Regions from separate parts of the Homo sapiens genome. Here region 1 is linked to region 2. The links are contacts of gene promoters, found by promoter capture Hi-C in blood cells and fetal thymus (Javierre and others, 2016). All regions are on one chromosome and are shown on one strand. Each heading gives the region's core, a stretch centred on a gene start or on the middle of the fragment in contact. The rest is flanking DNA. Distances are from core to core; before and after follow the strand shown. Region 1 has its middle 210 kb from the start of ADAM32. Region 2 holds the start of ADAM18 (ADAM metallopeptidase domain 18).

Region 1 (4,200 bases), core at 306-2,805, 260 kb before region 2:
GGCTGTAGAAGATTCAGAATGCCATGGTCAGATATTGGGAGCCAAAAATGGTTTTAAGTATGTACTTATGTAGCCACATTGAGTCTTTTAGGCTGTTTTTGAGGGGACAAATTAGAGTTAAGGTGATCAATTATATCACGATACAGTTTAGGTGAGTAACAGTGGTGGTTTGAATGATGGCACCAGTGATAGCACTTGAAAGAAAAATCGGTGGACCTCAATATAGATTTGGTAGAATGATTAGTAAACAGTGAGGAATTTCAGATAATTTAGTTGTCGCTCAAGAAAATGAATAGGCTATAGCATAATTAACTGAGGAATATGAACAGGGGATATATTTGTGTGAGGAAGGGGTGATTTCGGTTTTTTAGCACATATGAGATATCCAAGTGTGTTTTTTCCTCTAGATCAGGGGTGTCCAATCTTTTGGTTCCCCTGAGCCACACTGGAAGAATTGTTTTGGGCCACATATAAAATACACTTATGGTAGCTGATGAGCTAAAAAAAAATTTAAAAATCTCATAATGTTTTAAGAAAGTTTACAAATTTGCATTGGGCCGCATTCAAAGCCATCCTGGGCCATATGTGGCTAGGAAATTTGAATCTCTGAAAATATTCAATAGGAATATTGGAAAATAGTTTTAGCTATAGGTATATAGATTGAGCAGAAAGCAGTAGCTTGGCTGTGTTTTTTTTTTAATGAGTGCTCTTACGTAGGGTGCTTATAAATAGATCGTGGCTAAAGACTGGACCCTGGGAAACGGCAATGTTTCCTGGGATAGGTTGAACAAAAACAGCAGCCAACATGGAAGATAAAGCTGGAGGGACCAAGGAGGTAGGAAGAATAGCAGAAGAATGAAGTGTTATGTAAATTAAGTGAGGGGACTGAGTGGCCACAGTTTTCAAAAAGAAGCTAGAGGTCCAATGTAACAATGATTTTTTAAAATGCCTTTTGGATTTGGCGTTCTAATATTTGTGGATCTTTTCCAGGGAAGTTTTAGGGATAATAAGAATTGAGAAAGTGAAGGAATTGTGTGTAGACAATTCTTTTGATGAAATCTGTTAAGAATTGAAAAACATGTACATAAGGAATAGCTACAGTAGAACATGGGGTCAAGAAAGAGTTCTTTAGGATAATAATGACTTATTAGTATCATTTTAAATAGCATTATGATAAAAATCCAGTAGAGCATAAGAGTTCAAAATTATAGGATAGAAAAAGTAGTGTCCTCCGTATATGGCACAGGATGGTATCTGTAGCACCAGTGTAAGGGTTTGTTCTGAATGAAAGCAGTAATCTTCTGGCAATAAAGATAAGGAGTGCAGATGGGAACAGGTGATCTGACAGTGAGGGAACATGGGGGTTTTGTGGGATGAGTGACAGGAGTAGTCTCAAGTTTTTGAATAGTTACTGAGGGAAATAAAATTCTGACCGGAGTTATTGAGAAGAAATTGGCCCTTAGCATAGCTTAGCAAATATGAATTTGTAGTGAGAACAAGTAACTCTTTCTACATTTTCTGTTTGTATTAGTCTGTTTTCACACTGCTGATAAAGACATACCCAAGACTGGGCAATTTACAAAAGAAAGAGGTTTATTGGACTTACAGTTCCACATGGCTGGGGAGGCCTCACAATCATGGTGGAAGACGAGGAGCAAGTCACCTCTTACGTGGATGGCAGCAGGCAAAGAGAGAGCTTGTGCAGAGAAACTCCCGTTTTTAAAACCATCAGATCTCATGAGACCCATTGATTATCACAAGAACAGCATGGGAAAGACTCGCCCCCATGATTCAGTCATCTCCCACTGGGTCCCTCCCACAACATGTAGGAATTATGGGAGCCGCAAGATGAGATTTGGGTGGGGACACAGAGCCAAACCGTATCACTGTCCTAACCTTACACTTTAATTTTGAAACTTTGGTATAAAATCTAAAATCAATGAGTGAAATAGACAAAGACTAGAAAGTTCTATGCTGGAAATTGGGACCTATGCTATTTCCTCTTCATGTCTCTAGCAATCTGAGTTGCTCACTTATCTGCATTTTTGTATTGTATGTTATTCTAGTTAAAATGTCTCACTAAGCACCTAATTCAGTTTAAGTGCTAGAAATGCATGGACAATAATAAAACAAGTCGATTAGCACTACTTTAAATTTTTCAGTAAAAAGAAAATTTGTATAAGAATATTTTTTCTACCTTTTTGGTTTCACAACTTGAGCATGTTTTTATTATTTTTGCCTAGATCAATTTTATCTTCAGCTTCTGTTATTAATTCTTATGACGAAAATGACATCCGTCATTCCAAACCTCTGCTAGTTCAGGTAAGAATTAGGTTATTTTTTTCTTATGTATTTGTAATTCTAGATTTCTTTAAAAAGACAAATATTCTATAATAACTAGAATGTTATTTTACATATTCGCTGAAATTGAATAACTTGGGCTGGTGCTTATTTCTACATGGCACAAATTTATTAGGTAATTGCCAATCATATTAAAGTAGAAATGTAGCTAAAGTAATAAATAGTAAATGTAGCTAAAGTAAAAAATAAATAAAAAATATAAAGTAATACATATAAATAAATATAAATAAAATATATGGGGTGTTTATTTTAAAAATAAGTTATCCATTAATTTTTCTTTTTTTTTCCTAGATGGATTGCAATTATAATGGATATGTTGCGGGTATTCCAAATTCTCTTGTGACTCTCAGCGTATGTTCAGGACTCAGGTTGTAGACTACTTAAAGATACTCAATTTGCCAGTATTATATCCTGCTAGCCTATGAATTAATTCTCCATGTATCTGTTCTAATTCTATAATCACCTTTGTTATATTTCAGTTCCTTAAGGACTGAACCAAAATTACTAATAAAATAGTATTGATATTCTAGCAGTATCTGTTCCTGATGAGAGGCTACCTGTTGATACTGACAGGATCTGCTGCTTTAGGCTTTAAGAAAGGTTGAGTGTAGGGAGATTGATTGGTCTCCTCATACTTTTTTAGTTTTCTCAAATTCTGTTATTGTCCAATTTCCTAATGTCCTAGAAAAATTGACAATTGTGGAATGCATGGGACTAATGGACGCTGGCTCTGCAGTCAGTCATTATTAGGCATATGGTACCTTCAATCCAGCCCACACAAACAAATGATTTAGGGTATCAAGTGTCAGAGGAGAGTTAAGTGTATCAAAGAGAAGGAATCAAAGACTAAAGAAGAGACTGCCTAGAGATTCTACAGGCTGGTTAGAAAATATACATAATAGAAAGGGGTTTCAACCTGTTTAAGTGCACAGATCCATGCCACCACCATGCTTTCTTGAAGATAATCACAGATTTGTAATGTAAGGTAATATGTATCCTGTGATATAGTCGTCTAGTTCTGGTGTAAGAAAGACCCCAAAAGATAAAGAGATAAAAGTAAAAAAAAAAAAAAGCTAAGGTCACTTTAGATCTTAAAAACTGTGGCCCAAATTTCTCGTTATAATATTATGGTTTTAGACCGGGCGCGGTGGCTCACGCCTGTAATCCCAGCACTTCAGGAGGCCGAGGCGGGCGGATCACGAGGTCAGGAGGTCGAGACCATCCTGGCTAACATGGTGAAACCCCGTCTCTACTAAAAATACAAAAAATTAGCTGGGCGTAATGGCGGGCGCCTGTATTCCCAGCTACTCGGGAGGCTGAGGCAGGAGAATGGCGTGAACCCGGGAGGCGGAGCTTGCAGTGAGCCGAGATCGCGCCACTGCACTCCAGCCTGGGCGACAGAGCAAGACTCCGTCTCAAAGAAAAAAAGAAAAAAATTATGGTTTTAGTAGAATCATTTCAGACTTGTTTCGATTGTCTTAACACTCAGGGGAACAATGCAGCTGAAAAACATCTCATATGGAATTGAACCGATGGAGGCTGTATCAGGATTTATACACAAGATTTATGAAGAAAAATATGCTGACACTAATATTCTCTTAGAAGAAAATGACACTTATACTTGGTTTAATTCAGAGTATCAAGTCAGAAAAAGTTCAGAAGTAAGTATTGACTCTTTTATTTTAATTTAGTATAATTTTGTGTAATAAAAAATACTTTCAGAGCCAAGATTTGGTGACTTACAAATCTTAAAACTATTTTACTTCTTCATGAGGGCCCTACATGACTTTTAAAATGGCAAGAGAATAAACTTATGTTTGTCATTATGCTTGCCGTTAG
Region 2 (4,790 bases), core at 1,268-3,767:
TAGAAGAGAAGTGATTTCTTTGAACTGCCTGAGGTTAGAAAGGGAGGTATTTTTGAGCTGCTTTTTGTTAAAAGGAAAGATTTCTGCCAGGGACTCACTTTACCCTGTCTACCTAAATAATTTCTTTCTGCCTCCTATAACATATTCATTTGTATGAAAAGTCCAGAATAGAGACATCTCTTAAGATAGAAATTAGTTTAGTGGTTGTTTAGGGAGTAGAGGGGTGGGATAAAGAACTTGTTTTGGGGGTGGGAGGATACTTTATGGCTAATGGGCACAGAGTTTCTTCATGATGTGATGAAACTAATTTCAAATTGACTATAGTGATGTTCACACATATCTGAGAACATATTAAAAATCACTTAATTGTATGCTTTAAATGGGTAAATTGCATGGCATATGAATTATATCTCAATAAAGCTGTTTAAAAATACAACCTGGGATAAATTTACCAGAAAATATAACCTGGGATAATTCTACCAGATTTCTCTCATCTTCATTGCCACTAACTTATTTTGGGTCATTGTGCTCAATGGCCTGCTTCTTGTCAATAATAATTTTTGAGCTATCTGTTCAGGCGTACCAGCACTTAGCAGATCCAAGTTTTAGTCCTGATCAGTCTTATTTATTTTATTTGTTTTTTATTTTTTGAGATGGAGTTTTGCTCTTGTTGCCCACGCTGGAGTGCAATGGCACGATCTTGGCTCACTGCAACCTCTGCCTTTGGGGTTCAAGCAATTCTCCTGCCTCAGCCTTCCAAGTACCTGGGATTACAGGCGCCCACCACCACACCAGGGTAATTTTATATTTTTAGTAGAGATGGAGTTTCACCATGTTGGCCAGGCTGGTCTCGAACTCCTGACCTCAGGTGATCCACCCATCTTGGTCTCCCAAAGTGCTGGGATTACAGGCATGAGCCACCACTCCCGGCCCTGATCAGTTTTATTTTTGCACACAATTTTGCACACAATTTTTGCACACATATTTTGACACAATTCATCCCTGAAATAGGGGGTACTGGAGTAAAAGGCTTGAGTGTGATAGATGGGTTGGGTTTTGGACATGTGCCATTTAAGATATTTGTCAAAAAGTTAAGGGAGGCAGTTGCATAGTCTTCTACAGTGGTCTCAATTTTTCTCTCTCCCCTTGCCTTGCTGCCCTTCCTGTCTCCACAGTTTCTTACTTAGAGCTTAGAGTCACTGTTAACAAAACAGTCAGATTGCATTGTAAAGGTTTTCTTTTCCCTTAGAACACTATATTATAATCTTGTGTAGTAAGCAAGGTACACAGTTGAAGTAAAGTGCTTTCTGATTGTCTTTTCAAGATAAAGTTCCATTTTCTTGAATTCTCTTTATTTGCAAAAATAACACTAAATATTAAAGCTTTCCTTTCTCTTTCCTCCACTGATTATAATATAGTTTTATGAGAAAAATACACTGTTGAAGAAATGTGCTTTTTGATGGTCTTAGTGGGATCAACTCCATTTTCTTTTCTGCAAATTTATTTCAAATAATTTTGTGTATTTATAGGGTACAGCGTGATGTTTTGATCTATCTATACATTATAGAATGCTTCAGTCAAGCTAGTTAATATACCCATCTCCTCATCAATTTATCTTTTCTTTGTGGTGAGAACATTGAAAATAAATTTTAGCAATTTTGAAATATGCATTATTATTAACTGTGATCACCATGTAGTGCAAGAGATCATTAAAACTTATTCTTTCAGTCTGACTCATATTTTGTACCTTTAGATCAACATTTTCCCTTTCCCCATCCCTCATCCCACCTTCCCTGGCCTCTAGTAATCATCCTTCTATAAGATAGACTTTATTAGATTCCACATTCAAATGAGATCATACAGTATTTGTCTTTCTGTGCCTGGCATATTTCCCTTAGCATAACGTTCTCTGGTTCCATCCCTGTTGTTGCAAATGAATTTCCTTCGTTAAGGCTGTATACTATTCCACTGTGTATATTTACCACATTTTCTTTATTTACTCATTCCTCATTGACACTTAGGTTGATTCCATATCTTGGTTATCATGAATAACGGTGAAATCGTACCAGCATTAAAAAGTTCAATTTTCTTGATTTTTCCGTATTTGCAAAGATATTTAAGTCAGCAGTAGCATGTAGAAAATTGCTAGTAATAATAGCTAATAATAATAGCTGTTATTTCCCTTTTCCTCTTTCTCCTCCACCTTAGTAAATAAAACCTGCCATAAAACTGTGATATGGAGAAACAAAATTACCAACCTCACTAAAGAAAACCTCACTAAAAAGGAAAATCTAGCTTATTTACCCCAATGTAACTACTGAGGGCTTTAAACAACTTAAACGTCTCTGCAACAAATTTTGTGCAAACACCTATGCTTGCATCTGGCATTTCCCCTCCCCGCCCTGCGGAAGTGGCCCAGCTCTCAGAGCTCCTCAGACCTCACCCCCAGGGTCCTGGGGCAGCACAGGGTCCTCCCTGGCCCAGGCGCCCGGTGGCCGAGAGCCTGCCCGCGAGCTCAACGCTGCTCAACGGTCTCTGTCCTTGGCTGTGGCTCCTGCGCTCTGGCTGAGCCATGTTCCTTCTCCTCGCCCTCCTCACTGAGCTTGGAAGACTGCAAGCCCACGAAGGTAAGTCCATGGGAGCCTCCCCTTTCTTCTTCGACTTTATAGCTGGGCTGGGCTCTTACTGGGAGCAGTTTCTTGTCATTCTGGGACCCTCCCCCTCTCCCTTCTGGGATCCCATGCTGGTGCTTCTGGTGTGTCAGGGACACCTTTCCACGCCAGGCCAGGGGGAACTAAAGGCCTTAGCGGAGGACCTGTTAGCGCTCTGCATCAGCGCCCATGGTCTCAGTGGCCCACACGCAGTGCGTCTTCTGGCATCTTCCCACTCTGTGAAGGAGGGTGGAGGTGGTGGAGTACTAACTGCCTTCAGCGAACTCCTCAGAGTCCTGAGGAAGCAAGTCTCTCATCGATTCTAAAAGGGAACCAGAGGGGCCTGTAGAACTGCAATGTCTAATTTTTTTTTCTTTTTTTGTGTCTTAGCCATTTTCAATGTGCTGTTGATTATGTAGTGAAATTTGTGGACTAGAAAGAGTGTGAGCACATGAGAGAACTTCTACTTAAAATTTTAGGCGCCACCATGCAGTCCGGGATAAGAACCCGTGCTTGACTGAGACGATTGTTGATGCAAAACAAAGACAAAAACAAACACATTTTCTTACTGCAGGTTCTGAAGGAATATTTCTGCATGTCACAGTTCCACGGAAGATTAAGTCAAATGACAGTGAAGTTTCAGAGAGGAAGGTAAATGATGAGGAATATTTATTCTATATTTAAAGCTTTATGGCAATTTTTATTTACCCTTATATTAAGTCAGATCATACTAATTTGTATTCATTGCCAAATCATAATATTTTGCCTGTGCTATTTTGTCTCCTACCGTGTTTTGATCCTCTTGTTCCCCCATTTCTGCTGCTTATTTCCCTGTCTTTTCTCTTCATCTCTTCTTAACATACTACTTGTTCACAATTTCCAAGAAATGCTCAGCAATCAAACTGGTGGGAAAAAGAAATCAATATAAAATATTCATGACCATGGTTCAGCCAACAAATTAACAAATTTTTTATTGTCCAGTAAATGATGTAGAAATTTGTCATAAGTAAAATTTAGACATGCAAAATTTGACCCACAAGCATCAGTCTTAATAGCACGTAATGTACAAAGAAATTTTAAAAAAGCAAAGAAAAAATAAAAATATCACATTTGCCCTATTATGATGAAAAATATTACAATAAGTAAATATTAACTGGAAAAAGAAGTTGGAAAATTACTAACCTGCCTGCTAGATTAAAAACTGATTAAACTGAAGGCATTCAGTCTTGCATGTTTTCTTGATTGAAACACCTGAAATTGACAGATTTAAAATGTTTTATTTTACAAACTGGAAGTCACAATATAGGGGTTTATATTTCTATGCAGTCAAAATGGGCACAATATATGTCAACTCTGAAAATGTTTCAGGTTGAAAGAGTGATTTTAAAATTATGAGTAAGGAAAAGATTAATCTATTAATTCTATTTTGGCACACAATATTGGGACCTACCATGGCTATGTTCTACTAGTGAACAATTATAATAAAGTATATGTCAAATTATGTTTGGGAATCACAATAAAATGAATACTTTCTTTTAGAGAAGTTGGAAAGGATTTTCATATATAAATCTTATTTATCACATTATCCTTCTGAAATAGGATTATTTATTACATATATTCTTTTTAAAAGACAGAGGATTAAAAAATATTAATGGCATCAAATCTGTGTTAGCATGTAGAGTCTAATCTTTAATTTTTAACTCCATTTCCACTACAGTAAGCTGCTTTCTGTTGAAGAATTATTTGCATAAGTTATTTTCTGCCAACACAATCCCATCCCAACACTTTGGGATCCCAAGGTTGGAGGATCGCTTGAGCCTAGGAGTTTGAGGCTGGCTTGGGCAAGTTGGTGAGACCCCATCTCTACAAAAATAACTTAACTGGGTGTGGTGGTGTGTGCCTGTAGTCCCAGCTGTTCTGGAGGCTGAGGTGGGAGTACCCCTTGAGCCCAGCGGTTGGAGGCTGCAGTCAGCTGTGATTGTGTCACTGTACTCCAGCCTGGATGACAGAGCAAGACTTCATCTCTTAAAAACAAAAAACAAACAAACAAAAAACTATCTATCTATCTATCTATCTATCTATCTATCTATCTATCTATCTATATCTATCTATCTATCATCTATTCTGTTTTTTCCCCAG

Evidence for each region. The method cuts DNA at HindIII sites, captures the fragments that hold promoters and counts their contacts. A CHiCAGO score of 5 or more calls a contact.
Region 1: a contact is called between a fragment that was not itself captured here and the fragment with the promoter of ADAM18 in region 2, in 1 of 17 cell types (neutrophils). The highest score is 5.9, in neutrophils.

Annotation. Positions count from the first base shown.
Region 1 is chr8:39,320,318-39,324,517 of GRCh38, forward strand. It overlaps the pseudogene ADAM5. Among named protein-coding and RNA genes, the nearest start is that of ADAM32, 210 kb to the left of the region's middle. The HindIII fragment of the contact is 5,299 bases long and covers 1-4,200 here.
Region 2 is chr8:39,582,051-39,586,840 of GRCh38, forward strand. It overlaps ADAM18 (ADAM metallopeptidase domain 18), which reads left to right and starts at 2,518. Exons shown (of 20, transcript NM_014237.3): 1 at 2,518-2,627; 2 at 3,226-3,302. The coding sequence starts at 2,573. RefSeq lists an enhancer at 2,684-3,183. The HindIII fragment of the contact is 1,955 bases long and covers 1,381-3,335 here.